5 separate regions of the Homo sapiens genome follow, and all the other regions are linked to region 1. The links are contacts of gene promoters, found by promoter capture Hi-C in blood cells and fetal thymus (Javierre and others, 2016). All regions are on one chromosome and are shown on one strand. Each heading gives the region's core, a stretch centred on a gene start or on the middle of the fragment in contact. The rest is flanking DNA. Distances are from core to core; before and after follow the strand shown. Region 1 holds the start of SIAH1 (siah E3 ubiquitin protein ligase 1). Region 2 has its middle 8.6 kb from the start of GPT2. Region 3 overlaps C16orf87 (chromosome 16 open reading frame 87). Region 4 overlaps ITFG1-AS1 (ITFG1 antisense RNA 1). Region 5 has its middle 21 kb from the start of DNAJA2.

The links. The method cuts DNA at HindIII sites, captures the fragments that hold promoters and counts their contacts. A CHiCAGO score of 5 or more calls a contact.
Region 2: a contact is called between a fragment that was not itself captured here and the fragment with the promoter of SIAH1 in region 1, in 2 of 17 cell types (M0 macrophages and total CD8 T cells). The highest score is 7.3, in M0 macrophages.
Region 3: a fragment that was not itself captured here is called in contact with the fragment with the promoter of SIAH1 in region 1 in 1 of 17 cell types (non-activated CD4 T cells); the score reaches 5.7 in non-activated CD4 T cells.
Region 4: a contact is called between a fragment that was not itself captured here and the fragment with the promoter of SIAH1 in region 1, in 1 of 17 cell types (activated CD4 T cells). The highest score is 6.9, in activated CD4 T cells.
Region 5: a contact is called between a fragment that was not itself captured here and the fragment with the promoter of SIAH1 in region 1, in 5 of 17 cell types (activated CD4 T cells, naive CD8 T cells, naive B cells and 2 more). The highest score is 7.6, in activated CD4 T cells.

Annotation. Positions count from the first base shown.
Region 1 is chr16:48,383,971-48,386,682 of GRCh38, forward strand. SIAH1 (siah E3 ubiquitin protein ligase 1) reads right to left here and starts at 1,443. Exons shown (of 2, transcript NM_003031.4): 1 at 1,234-1,443. RefSeq lists silencers at 522-791, 882-951, 1,052-1,871. The HindIII fragment of the contact is 2,947 bases long and covers 1-2,029 here.
Region 2 is chr16:46,874,408-46,877,141 of GRCh38, forward strand. No RefSeq gene overlaps it. Among named protein-coding and RNA genes, the nearest start is that of GPT2, 8.6 kb to the right of the region's middle. The HindIII fragment of the contact is 1,437 bases long and covers 739-2,175 here.
Region 3 is chr16:46,803,554-46,806,286 of GRCh38, forward strand. All of the region lies in intron 3 of C16orf87 (chromosome 16 open reading frame 87), which reads right to left. Among named protein-coding and RNA genes, the nearest start is that of C16orf87, 26 kb to the right of the region's middle. The HindIII fragment of the contact is 3,620 bases long and covers 1-2,733 here.
Region 4 is chr16:47,149,146-47,151,845 of GRCh38, forward strand. All of the region lies in intron 1 of ITFG1-AS1 (ITFG1 antisense RNA 1), which reads left to right. It also overlaps the pseudogene RPL23AP72. Among named protein-coding and RNA genes, the nearest start is that of ITFG1-AS1, 6.4 kb to the left of the region's middle. The HindIII fragment of the contact is 151 bases long and covers 1,226-1,376 here.
Region 5 is chr16:46,951,276-46,953,975 of GRCh38, forward strand. No RefSeq gene overlaps it. Among named protein-coding and RNA genes, the nearest start is that of DNAJA2, 21 kb to the right of the region's middle. The HindIII fragment of the contact is 851 bases long and covers 1,014-1,864 here.

The DNA.
Region 1 (2,712 bases), core at 193-2,692:
TCATCAATTCTCAACAGGGCTTGAGGTAGATACTGTCGTTACACCCATTTTGCAGATAAGGAAAGCGAAGCACAGAGAAGTATCTGCCCAAGGTCACAAACCAGTGGAGCAGGATTTGACCCAAAGCAGACAGTCGGACTTCACAGCCCGTGCTCTCAACATCCAACTGCTGAAGAGTTAACAATTTACCCTTGACAGCCGCTATAAGCAAAGGTAAATGCTCAACTGCTAGGAAGGGACAGTCAGAACACCGTCCCATATCCAGTATCCATGTCTCTCTGTTTGTTTATGGCCTCTATGACTTTGGCAAAAGAAGTACACACAATCTGATTTTCCGAACACCCAAGCTGGACTTTTCTGAATGTCCGAGCAAACAAATTATGTATCTTTCCAGGAACGGGCAGACAGCGAAAACGAACCTACGCATCGGAGTGGCCCAGGTTATTCACTTTAAGTTATAAATTTGGGAGAGTTAAGAAAGGACCCCAAACTACCCGGCAAATGAACCCTAGGAAATGCCAGGTTTATAATAAGCTAGAGCTTCCCCGGCACGCCGTTCACGCGCTCTCCTCTCTAACGACATAAACAAGGGAGGAGGCTGCATTCTTCCCACTGCACAATGAAGCCTCCGGCCGAAGCGGCAGGAAGAGCGCAGCCCCGTCCCGGACGGCTCCAGCCGGGGGTCGGGGGCAGAGAGCGGAGGCCGAGGCCCGCCGAGCGGCGCGGTGCGGCCCGGGCCTCCGGGCGCCGCGGGGAGGAGGGGGAGGGAGGGCAGGGCCCCGGCAGCTGCCCGCACTCAGCTGACCTCCGCCATGTTGGCCGCACACCCCGGGACCCTCCACAACAAAGGCCGGCACGAGGGCGCGGGGCGCGCCGGGCGCCACCCCCGGCCGGGCCCGCCTCCCGGGCGCGCGGGGGCCGGGCCGCCGCCGAGGCCCTTCCCCCGCCCTCGGCCCGGCCGCGCGGGGCCGACCCCCGCCGCCACCCCGCCGGGCCCGGGGCTCCAGGGGCGGGGGCGAGCCGGCTTGCGAAGGCTGAAGGCAGGGGAGGGGCGGGGGGCGGCGCTCGACCGGGCGGCCCGACTCCGGCCGAGACAAAGGCGCCGCCGCGCCGACTACTGCCCGCGCCCCGGCCGGGCCGCCCTTCCCGCCCTCCGCCATTACCGGGCCTGGGCGCCCGCCTGTCGGAGAGCCCCTCGCCGCCGGCTCCTCCCTCAGGCCGGGCCCCACTTACCTGTGGGCGGAGAGCGCGCCTCGGACCCCGGTCCTGGCACCAACGCGCTCCGTCGCCAACCCCCGCCACCGCGGGCAGCGCCACCGCCTCTTCCCGGCGCCGAGACCGACGGGACACCCTGGGCCGCCGCCGCCTCTCGAGAGCGCGCCCCGCAACGGCCGCCCCGGCTCCCCCCTGGCCGCCGCCGCCGCCGCCGTTTCGCGCGTCCTCGAGCCCGCCGCGCGCCCCCGCTAAATACCACACACTGCGGCGGCGGCCATGAGGAGGCGCGGCCCCGCGCGCTGGGAGCCTGGGGGGGCGGGGCTTTCGCGGGCGCGCAGGCGCACAGGCGTTGGCGCGGCCGGCGGCGGCCTCCGCGGGCGTAGCTGTGCGGGTCTCCAAAGGCGGCAGTAGGTGCGGGGGCTACTCGGCTACCGTTGCTGCGCCCGTGCACCGCGCATTCAACGGATCCTGGCACGTGGCGCTCTGGCCCGCGAGAAGCTAGCGCTTGCCCGTCGGCTCAGGGCAGCTCCTCCCGCGGCGCTTTGTTCCGGGGCCGCGTGACCCCCCCGGCTCCGGCCGGAGGGGTCGCCCAGCGGGATGCGAGCCCCAGGCTGGCCGCCGCCGCGGCCTTGTGCCCTCCCCCTTGTTTTGTCTGCTGATTTAGCCCAGCGCCTCCACGGATCCTTCCCAACTCCACTCAGTCCCAAAGAAAAAGCGGCTGCCCTGCCCGCCGACCGGGACCCCACCCCTAAAGAGAGTCCCAGCCTCTCCCGAGGTTGAGCCGCTCCTCAGCAACAGCGGGACGAGCTTCAAAAGCTTGTTTCAGCTGAAAAGTGGGTAATGGGGAAGCACGCGTTTTCCTGTGTCCATGCTCATCTGGAAAGTCCCTAATTAGGGACTCTGCATTCCACTTCTTGAAATAATAAAAGGAAAACATCACTTGCAATTCTTTGATGGGTGCTATGAGCAGAAGCAAGCATCTGAGACATTTACAAGCCCTAACTGGAATTCCATGTAAGATCTATTAAAATGGTATTCCGTCCGGACGCGGTGGCTCACGCCTGTAATCCCAGCACTTAGGGAGGCCGAGGCCGATGGATTACCTGAGGTCAGGAGTTCGAGAGTAGCCTGGCCAACATGGTGAAACCCTATCTCTACTAAAAATACAAAAATTAGCCGGGCGTGGTGGTGCACGCCTGTAGTCCCAGCTACTCGGAGGCTGAGGCAGGAGAATCGCTTGAACCCGGGAGGCAGAGGTTGCAGTGAGGCAGAGATCAGGCCATTGCACTCCAGCCTGGACAACAGAGCGAGACTCTGTCTCAAAAAAATAAAAATAAAAATAGAAAAATCCCATACCGGGCACGTATGTACAAATTCCCAGTGTATGATAAAGTTTATATGTGCAAAACACTAGTTTACAGTATTCCTAATTACATGATTTAAACTGCAATTTTACTTTCACATTTTTGGGGAGAAGTTATAGCTCCTCAGTACACG
Region 2 (2,734 bases), core at 207-2,706, 1.5 Mb before region 1:
CGAGGTCAGGAGATGGAGACCATCCTGGCAAACAAGGTGAAACCCCATCTCTACTAAAAATACAAAAAAATTAGCCAGGCGTCGTGGCAGGCGCCTGTAGTCCTAGCTACTCGGGAGGCTGAGGCAGGAGAATGGCGTGAACCCGGGAGGCGGAGCCTTCAGTGAGCCCAGATTGCGTCACTGCACTCCATCCTGGGCGACAGAGCCAGACTCCATCTCAAACACAAACAAACAAACAAAAGAATCGCTTCAACTGGGGAGGTGGAGGCTGCAGTGAACCAAGATCATGCCATTGCACTCCAGCCTGGGCAACAGAGCACGACTGTCTCAAAAAAAAAAAAAAAAAAGTCCAAAAGTCCAGGTGCAGTGGCTCAATGCCTGTATGTAATCCCAGCACTTTGGGAGGCCAAGGCAGGAGGATGGCTTAAAGCTCAGGAGTTTGAGACCAGCCTGGGCAACATGGCAAAACCCCATTTCTATTAAGAAAATATATTTTAAAAGTCTAATAAATATTACCTATAAATGTTATATAATATTATTATTAATAAAGCTGGGGGTGGGATGGAAAGAGAGCATAAGGAGGAATAGCTAATGGATGCTGGGCTTAACACCTAGGTGATGGGTTGATCTGTGCAGCAAACAACCATGGCACATGTTTACCTATATAACAAACCTGCACGTCCTGCACATGTACCCCAGAACTTAAAATAAAAGTTGAAGGAAAAAAAAAAAAAAGAAAGCTTTGTGCCAGGCCTACCTGGTGCTAAACCCAAATCATAGATAATACTCTAGGTAAATAGTTCTGCCCGTTTCTTCTGAAGAATGAATAAGAACTAGAATTCACACTTTAGGAGACTGAGGCGGGAGTATCACTTGAGCCTAGGAGTTTGAAACCAACCTGGGCAACATGGCAAGACCCTGTCTCTAAAAATTAAACATAAAAAATCAGCCAGGTATGGTGGCAAACTCCTATAGTGCCAGCTACTCAGGAGGCTGAGATAGGAGAATTGCTTGGGCCCAGGAGTTCGAGGCTGCAGGGAGCCAGGATCATGTCACTGCTCCAGCCTGGGCAACAGAGCAAGACCCTACCTCTAAAAAAAAACAAAAAATAGAGGCCGGGTGCAGTGGTTCACGCCTGTAATCCCAGCACTTCGGGCAGCCGAGGCGGGTGGATCACGAGGTCAGGAATTCAAGACCAGCCTGGCCAACATGGTGAAACCCTGTCTCTACTAAAAATACAAAAATTAGCTGGATGTGGTGGTGCGTGCCTATAATCCCAGCTACTCAAGAGGCTGAGGCAGGAGAATTGCTTGACCCGGGAGGCGGAGGTTGCAGTGAGCCGAGATCATGCCACTGCACTCCAGCCTAGGCAACAGAGCAAGACTCCATCTAAAACAAAAAGAAAAAGAAAAAAAGAAAGCAAAGAAAAGAAAAGATACCAAAAAAACTAGAATTCAAAAAAATAAAAGTATAGGCCGGGCGCAGTGGCTCACGCCTATAATCCCAGCACTTTGGGAGGCCGAGGTGGGTGGATCACTTAAGGTCAGGAGTTCGAGACCAGCCTGGCCAACATGGTGAAACCCCGTCTCTATTGAAAGAACACAAAAATTAGCTGGGCATGGTGGTGGGCACCTGTAATCCCAACTACTCAGGAGGCTGAGGCAGGAGAATCACCTGACTCCAGGAGGCAGAGGTTGCAATGAGCCGAGATCGCACCATCGCATTCCAACCTGAGCGACACAGTGAGACTGTGTCTCAAAAATAACAAAAACAAAAAGAATAAATGAGAACTACAAAGCATAGGGCTTATGGTATTGTATGATTATTTTTTTCTCCTGTTTCTAGGTCCCAAAACTATTTTGTGAGCTTCTCTAGTTGAAAAATTCTGTGGCTTTATGAAAATATCTAGGAAAACTAGATAAGTAAACCTTTTGGAAATACTGATTTGAGCCATTGCTTAATATTTTGTCTGTGTTTTAGCACATTCAACAGCTGAAATCACTTGAGTTTGCAGATAAGGATTCTATTAGTCCCTTGGGGTGTTTCTGAAATTGTTTCCATATGTCTTCCATGGCGCAAATAAGAGTCCTCAGATCCCTAAAGATCAGGAAGCAAGAAATCAAGGAATATGGAACAACAAACACCCTCTGAATGAAAGGTTTTATTTGCTCATGAAGCTTATACAATTGTTCATTCGCTACAGCTCTTCCAGCCTCTCCTCATTCTCCGAAACCACCTGGATTTGGTTGAGTGCACTGCCAAGACCGAAACGTGCCTGCCAGTGCTTTGAAATGTTATCAATGCAGTACTGAATTGTAAACACCACTTTTGTAAAATGTCTTTACTCAGTTTTAACCTCTGTAAGTTACATAAGAATGTGTCCCTTGTTTGTGTATAGCTTAGCTTAGTATCATAAGTTTATCTTTAATCCACTTTGAACGTCATGGTGAGAGCATTGGGATACATGTGTCCCGGCTATTAGCTCACCTAAACTAATATTTGCTTGTTAGAGGCAATGATTTGCTTCAAGGAGACTCAGAGCAAGTAGGATCTCAACGAAATTTCCCTGACCATCCCCTAAAAACTTGAGCCTGACTTAAATTAAAAAAAAAAAAAAAGAAGGCCGGGCACAGTGGCTCACACCTGTAATCCCAGCACTTTGGGAGGCAAAGGCGGGCGGATCCCTTGAGTCCAGGAGTTCAAGACCAGCCTGGGCAACATGGCAAAAACTTGT
Region 3 (2,733 bases), core at 143-2,642, 1.6 Mb before region 1:
ACTCGTAATCTCATGAGTCAGCAAAAATCACAATTAACATCTTGGTGTATATTCTTCCAAGTTACTTTTTCAGGATCCCCTGATTCTATTTTTGTTTATTTTGTTTTGACAGTCTAATCAAAGTTAAATGCATATAATTTACAATCAAATCATTTTTATAAAACTTGTTAAAAAAAAAAAACAGAAGTCCTTTGCCCCATACACATTTTCCACTCTCCAAATGCAACTACTTTTTTTGTGACTTTTTTTTTCAGTTGTTCCTTTTTGCTTTTACAAAAACAAATCTCTAAGTAACATTTGTACAAGATGCTACTTCAGGGTTTTAGGCATTACTGATTCACTTTCCACCAGGGAAAATAAGGGTTACACTGTTTTGCATCTCTTGCCCCAATAAACACTCTGCCCATCCCTCATCTTCTCACTATAATTAAATCACAACTTTAGTAACATCAGTTTTCAGTGATTACATTATTATGCCTATGGTAAGTGATTTTTCACTTTTCCTTTACATTGTTTTCCCTGAAGTGATTCTCTTTTTACTTGCTTAGTTTTCATTTCTAACTCAACCCAATGTCTTTCCTAGTTGTATAAATTGTTTTTCAGGATGTTTACACGTATCAGGTATTTTATCATTTTTATCTTCTTGAAGAAATCGCTCCAAGTCTTCCAACCTGCTCCAGTATGAAATGATTGCTCTCTAGGCCTACTGCAAAATTATCATCTTGTGCTCTTTCATCAGCATCATGCTGGAGACTCTCATCTCTAGAGTTGGGTGGACCCACCTTTGTCTTGAATCCAAAGATCCTTTCTTGGTTTATTTCTTCATTTTGGTAGCAGGTAACTTGTAGGGGCTTCCTGAGAAAGGCAGTATTGGTAGCAAATTTTTTGAGACCCTGAATGTCAGAAAATATCTTTAGTCTACCTTCACATTAATTCATAGTTTGATTGAGTATAGACTTGTAGGTTTCCGCTTAGAACTGTGAAGGCAGTAAACTGTCTTCTGACTACTGGTGCCATTGTTGAGAAAACCAATACCTTTTTTATAGTTATTTTTAAAATCAATGATAAATTTACATATAGTGAATACACAGATCTTTTATGTGTTCAACTGGAGGAGTTCTGACAAACATATACAAACATGTAACCCATGTCACAATCAACATATAACAAATTTCCTCCAGAAATTCCTCATGCTTCTTTCCAGCCAATCCCTCTCTACACCTACAAGCAACCACTGTTCTGATTTCTATTACCACAGAATCATTCTGTCTGTTCCTAAACTTCATATAAATGGCATCATATATAGTATGTACTCTTTTGTGCCTAGCTTATTTTGCTCAACATGTTTTTGAAATTCATTGATGCTAGTCATATATCAGTAGTTTGTTCTTTGCTGGGCAATATTGCATTGTATTAGTTCCAATATCATTTTGCTTTTCTTTTTTCTGAAAACCTGAAAAATTTTATTTAACCAAAGATATGAGATATGATGACGAACTCTGGTATAATTTCTCTTTTTAACCATCATTTCTCTTTTTAGACTGGGAATTTGTAGGCCCTTTTAACAAAGAAACTCAATGTCCTTCAGGTTGGAAAAATTTTCTTGAATAAATAATTGTCATTGTTAAAGTCGTTGATGACTTCCTTCTCCTCCATCTTCCATGTTCCTTATCTGAAACTTTAATTATTTACAGATGTCAGACCTCATACTGGTCCTCTAAATTTCTTAAGGTTTCCATTCTGTTTTTTCCATCTCTTTTCAATTGTTATAGTTTCTGGAACCTTTCTTCAATTTTATCTTTAAGCCTTTTATTAAAGTTGTTCATTTCTGTGTATCATCTATGTTTTGGGGTTTTTTGGAATATTTTAAAGTTCATTTTCCAACTGGCTTTTTGACCTCTGCAATTTCCTTTTAAATATCACCTTGTTCATTTTACAATTACAATTGCTTCTTTTGCTAAAGATATTAATAGTAGTTTATAGTTTTTCTTTTCCCTGCAAAATCTTGCTTTTTTCCAAGTTATTTTTTCTCTCCTGTTGATTTGGTCTTAGCCTTTCATACTATAATAGATGCTTTCTTCCAGATATCTGGGTAATTCTTGGCAATATGCTCATATTTAGGAGAGTGACCAAAGAAGCTGATTAGAAACATACACATACGTGGAGCTTGACTGTAGTCATCAGATTAGGATGATCCAATTAGGCCACTTCTCTGTGAATCTCTAATGAGAGTATCTTTATTTGGGGCCTTTTCTCTTGGGTCCTTCGGATTCTCTAGAGAAGATATGTTCAAACTTTTTTACTTTTTTTACCTGGACGCTAATAAGCCAAACTCAAGAACTCAGCATTTACTATGTCCAATTTTCACCTAGGCTTCCTGATCTTAACATGGTATCCTGGCCGTCAACAGACACCTGGTGTTCCTGAGACCAAAGACTGTATTATTTACCTTTTTCAAAGGATAAACCTGGGGGATAAGAGGGTAAACAGTCCTGGTGGGCTACTCATAAAAAGACTTGCAAACAATCCTCTCATTTTTAGCCTCAATTTCACTTCTACTTCCAGACATAACTGATACACAAATTCCTGACTTTTAGGTAACTGTGTAATAAAAATCAGTTTCTTTCTTAGATTTCCCCAAAGGAGTTTAGAGCTAGATGTGTTTCTTCAATCCACAATCTTCAGCTTGAAGTCTACATTCATTTTTTTTTTTTTTTTTTTTTGAGACGGAGT
Region 4 (2,700 bases), core at 51-2,550, 1.2 Mb before region 1:
ATTGGGTCACTGCAACCTCTGCCTCTTGGGTTCAAGCAATTCTCCTGCCTCAAGCCTCCCGAGTAGCTGGGATTACAGGCTTGTGCCATGACGCCCGGCTAATTTTTGTATTGTTAGTGGAGACAGGGTTTCACCATGTTGGCCAGGCTGGTCTCGAACTCAGATGATCCACCCGCCTCGGCCTCCCAAAGTGCTGGGATTACAGGCGTGAGCCACCATGCCTGGCCTAATCACCCTAACTTTATTATTTTGTTACCTGGTAGAGCAGGTCCTTATTCTTTTTCAAGATTGTCTTGGCTGTTCTTGGTCTCTTATATTTCCGTGTACATTTTAGAAACCTCTTAGCAAGCTCGGCAACACAACACCCCGTTGGGATGAGTGGAATTGGGAGGGCTTTGACATCTTTACAATTTTGAGTCTTCCTGTCCATTAACATGGTTACAGATGTGCATTTATTGAAAATTTCCTTAGCGTTTCTCAGAGAAGTTTTATAATTTACCAGACAGAGATGTATGCTACATCTTGTGTTATACTAATTCCCAGGTACTTGACTTTTTCGATGCTGTTATAAATGTTACCTGTTTTTAAATCCCATTTTCTAATTGTTCATGCTGGCGTATAAAAATGCAATTGATTTTAGAAAGTGCCAAACTGTTCTCTAGAGTGGCTTTCCTATTTTGCATCCCCACCAGCAATATATGAAAATTCTAGTTTTTCCTCATCCACATTAGCACTTTGAATTGTCAGTATTCTTTGTTTTATCCATGAAAGCACTTTTTATTCATGATAGATGTGTATTGGTATCTCTTCATAGTTTTAGTATTCATTTCCCTAATGGCATATCCGGTTGAACATCTTTTCATATGCTTGTTTGCTACCTATATATCCTCTTCAGTGAAGTATCCTCAAATTATTGCCCACTCAAATTGTTTTTTATTTTTACTGGTGAAAAGATGTCCATTTAGAATTAGCCAGCTGGACTCAGTTTAGATGATTCCAATTTTGTTGGCAACATCCAAAGCATCATAAGCAGGAGCCAGTCAAACACACGCCTTCTCTCCATTGGGCCTGATTGATCAGGCTACATCAGTGTTGCAGAGCTTCCCCACATCCTGTTTGCTCTGGTGCTTGTTGGCTTTGCCATCCACGGTGACCTCAAGTGTGTTGTTATCTTCTGTCTTCTTCATGGCACACTCAATGCTCAGGGAATCGGGCAGAGTGATGAAGCTTGTTTCTCCTGGGGGCACTCTTCTGAGGATATCTGGGTTGTCTCTAGAGCTGTAGTGTTTTGGGGTGCTGGAAGGTGGGTGAAGTGCAGATACTCCTTTTTGTGTGTGGCTGTGGATGCTTTCCAGCACTGCCTTCTTGGCCTTCAAAGCTTTTGCTTTGGTTTCAGCTTTGGGAGAGGCAGGAGCTTCCTTAGGTGTCATCTTGTCTGAGTTTTTGTATTGTTGAGTTTTGAGAGTTCTTTATAGATTCAGGATACAAGTCTGTTGTTGGATATGTGATTTGAAAATATTTTCTTGGCCGGGCATGGTGGCTTATGCCTATAATCCCAGCACTTTAGGAGGCTGAAGCGGGTGGATCACTTGAGGTCAGCAGTTCGAGACCAACCTGACCAACATGGTGAAACCCCATCTTTACTAAAAACACAAAAATTAGCCAGGCATGGTGTCACACACCTGTAGTCCCAGCTACTTGGGAGGCTGAGGCAGGACAATTGCTTGAACCTGGGAGGCAGAGGCTGCAGTGAGCCGAGATCACACCACTGCACTCCAGCCTGGGTGACAGAGCAAGACTCCATCTCAAAAAAAAAATTTTTTTTTCTTTGCATATATAGCTTGTCCATTCTCTTGGAAGTGTCTTTGTCAAAGCAAACATTTTTAATTTAGATGAAGTCACATTTATCAGTTTTTAAAAAGAATCATAACTTTGGTGTCATTTCTAAGAACTCTGCTTACCCCTAGCCTATGAAGACATTCTATGTGTTCTTTTAAAGTTTTATAGTTTTACATTTTATATTTGAATTTATGACCCACTTTGAGTTAATTTTTGTGTAAGGTGTGAGGTTTAGATCAAGGTTCTTTTTTTCTCCTTTGCCCTTTGTATTTATGGCAAATACAGATGATCAATTGTTCTGACACTATTTGTTGAAAAGACTGTCTTCCACTTAGTAACTTTTACATCTTTGTCAAACATCAAATGTCTATATTTGTGTGAGTTTATTCCTGGACTCAATTTTATTCCATTGGTCTATGTGTCTCTCTTTGCCAATACCACACTATCTTTATTACTCAAGCTTTATAATAAGTTTTAAAGTCACATAGTTTGATTTCTTCAACTTTGTCTTCTTTTTCAACATTGTTTTAAACTAGTCTAGTTTATTTTCTCTTTCATATAAGTTGCACAAAATCCTGTCCATGTCCACAAAAAGATACTGCTGGGATTTTGATAGGGATGGTGTGAAATGTACAGATCACTTTGGGGAGTACTGGCATCTCCTAATCCATGAACACACTGTCTTTCCATTGAAGTCTTCCTTGGTTTCTTTCATCACCTTTCTTCTTTGTTAATATGTGCATTTAGTGTTATAAATACCACCCCCCAGCACTGCCTCCTACAAATTTTGTTACATTGTATTTTTCATTTGGCTCAAAATATTTTAAAATTTCCTTTTGAGACTTCCTCTTTGACCCTATG
Region 5 (2,700 bases), core at 189-2,688, 1.4 Mb before region 1:
GACTTTCAGCCATAAGACATGTCCCTGAGCCAATGAGGTGAGAAAAGATTTGGATGGAGTTTCACCATGTTGTTCTGTCATGCCACTGCTACCCACATTAACAGGCTTGTTTGGAAAGCCTGGGAATCAGGAGGGCTTGGGGCTAGGGACAGGCTATACCTTCAGAGGGAACAGCTCAACTCTCCCAGTGAGCTCTCTGGAATCGAGCTTTAGATGCCTGGGCAAGGCCAGAACATTGTAAATGAGTCCAGCTGGAATCAGTTGCCAACAGGGGAACCCAGCTTCCCAATGACATCAGGATTAGCACATAAAGCTTGGTACTGGGCTGTCTTCGGGTGGATGTTTCCCTACAAGAATACCTGTATTTTTTCAGGAGGTGTCTATACAGGCATTCTCCTTCACTAAATCTTGCGTTCTCTAAAATTAAGTAGATCCCCTTTTAAACATAGATCCCCATTTTATAGGCTTGATTTTGCTGTGAGTCACATCATAGCTTTCAGGACTTAAAATTGTGCCTAAATAGGTAAAAACATTAGCCAGGCATGGCGGCACGTACCTGTGGTCCCAGTGACACAGGAGGCTGAGGCAGGGGGATCACTGGAGCCCAGGAGGTCGAGGCTACAGTAAGCTTTGTTTGTGTCACTGCACTCCAGTCCGGTGAGCATGAGACCCTGTCTCCATTAAAAGAAAAAAAAAAAAAGTAAAAATGTAAGTAATCATTACTTGTTTGCCAAGCAAAATATTCCTGCATGAGGTCCTTGTGGTGAAGAAGTTAAGAAATCAGTGCCCAACCGTGTTGCACTATATTCTTGTAAAATATATTTTGGTTCTGTCCCCTAATCCTCATGTGCTAACAGGGATGTATTGTTTTTTCTAGAGCTCCTTTGCAGGGATTTAGATCATTATTTCAGATCTTCCAGATCTTAGATTTGGTTTAAGAGGTCAAGAAGCACTTCCTTCATTCATAAATATTTATTTAGGTTCTACTATATGCCAGCGTTCTATGCACTAGAAGCTTAACTTTGTAATCTGGTTTGAAGCATTGTGTACAAATGCACAACGACATATGTATGAAGCTGTTACCCACAGCATTGTTTGTAATAACTGGAAACAATTCGAACATCTATCAATAGGTAGGAAATGGTTCATTCAAACAACAGAACTTTAAAATCATTAAAAATAGATCTTTATGTATTACTATGCAAATATGCCAAAGGAATAATAAGACCAAAAGTTGTAAAAATAAGTTATTTTATCCCATTTTTGCATACACACATGTGAGAAATTGGTAAAAATGATTGCATCTGGGAACAGGTTGGAAAATTTAGTTCTATATGTATTAAAAACAAAAAAAAAGACCAAGGCCGGGCGTGGTGGCTCACACCTGTAATCCAGCACTTTGGGAGGCCAAGGCGGGAAGATCACTTGAGGTCAGGAATTAAAGACCAGCCTGGCCAACATAGTGAAAACCCGTCTCTACAAAAACACAAAAATCTAGCCAGCCGTGGTGGCGCATGCCTGTAATCCCAGCGACTCAGGAGGCTGGGCAGGAGAATCGCTGGGACCCAGAAGGCAGAGGTTGCAGTGAGCCAAGACTGCACCACTGCACTCCAGCCTGGGTGACAGAGGGAGACTCCGTCTCAAGAAAAAAACAAAATGAAACAAAACAAAAACAAAAACAAAAAACCAACTTTGTGTTGATAGTCTCATGAGCACATGATTTGGATTGGGGGAGATTAATTTTTTAAAGTCGATAGTTCTATGTTTTTTTAACGATCATGTATTGCTTTCCTAACAGAAAAAAATAATTTGTATACTATTTGTAGATTATGAAAGGGGATACCTATTCACACATAGAATGGTAAGCTTCATCACTGAAGATTCTCAACCCACCACTGGTATAAGCTTTCTCAGGTTCTTTTCTTCCTATAGCTGGGAAGTCAGGTTTTCTTTCTTTTTTTGGGACAAAGTCTCGCTCTGTTGCCCAGGCTGGAGTTCAGGGGTGCAATCTTGGCTCACTGCACCCTCTGCCTCGTGGGTTCAAGCTTCTCCTGCCTCAGCCTCCCAAGTAGCTGGGACCACAGGTGTGTGCCACCATGCCCGGCTAATTTTTTTGTATTTTTAGTAGAGACGGGGTTTCACCGTGTTAGCCAGGATGGTCTCGATCTCCTGTCCTCATGATCCGCCTGCCTGGTCCTCCCAAAGTGCTGGGATTACAGGCGTGAGCCACTGCGCTCAGCAGAAGTCAGGTTTTCTAACGTGTTTAGCTTGACTCACAGTGGCACTGGCTAATGGTTCACTTTGACCAGAGATTTAACTGAACTTCTTTTGGAAATTAAAAATAACCAACCATACTTAAAATGTTCCCTAGAAGTCTGTGCCAGGTGATGTGGGCTTCCTAATTTTACGAAATCTTTTGCAACTGAAGATTATTTACAAGACTTTTGATGGCCGAGCACAGTGGCTCATACCTGTAATCCCAGCATTTTGAGAGGCCAAGGTGGGCAGATAACCTGAGGTCAGTAGATCGAGACCATGCTAGCTAACATGGTGAAACCCCGTCTCTACTAAAAAATACAAAAATTAGCCAGGCGTAGTGGCACGCGCCTGTAGTCCCAGCTACTTGGGAGGCTGAGGCAGGAGAATTGCTTGAACCCGGGAGGTGGAGGTTGCAGTGAGCTGAGATTGCGCCACTGCACT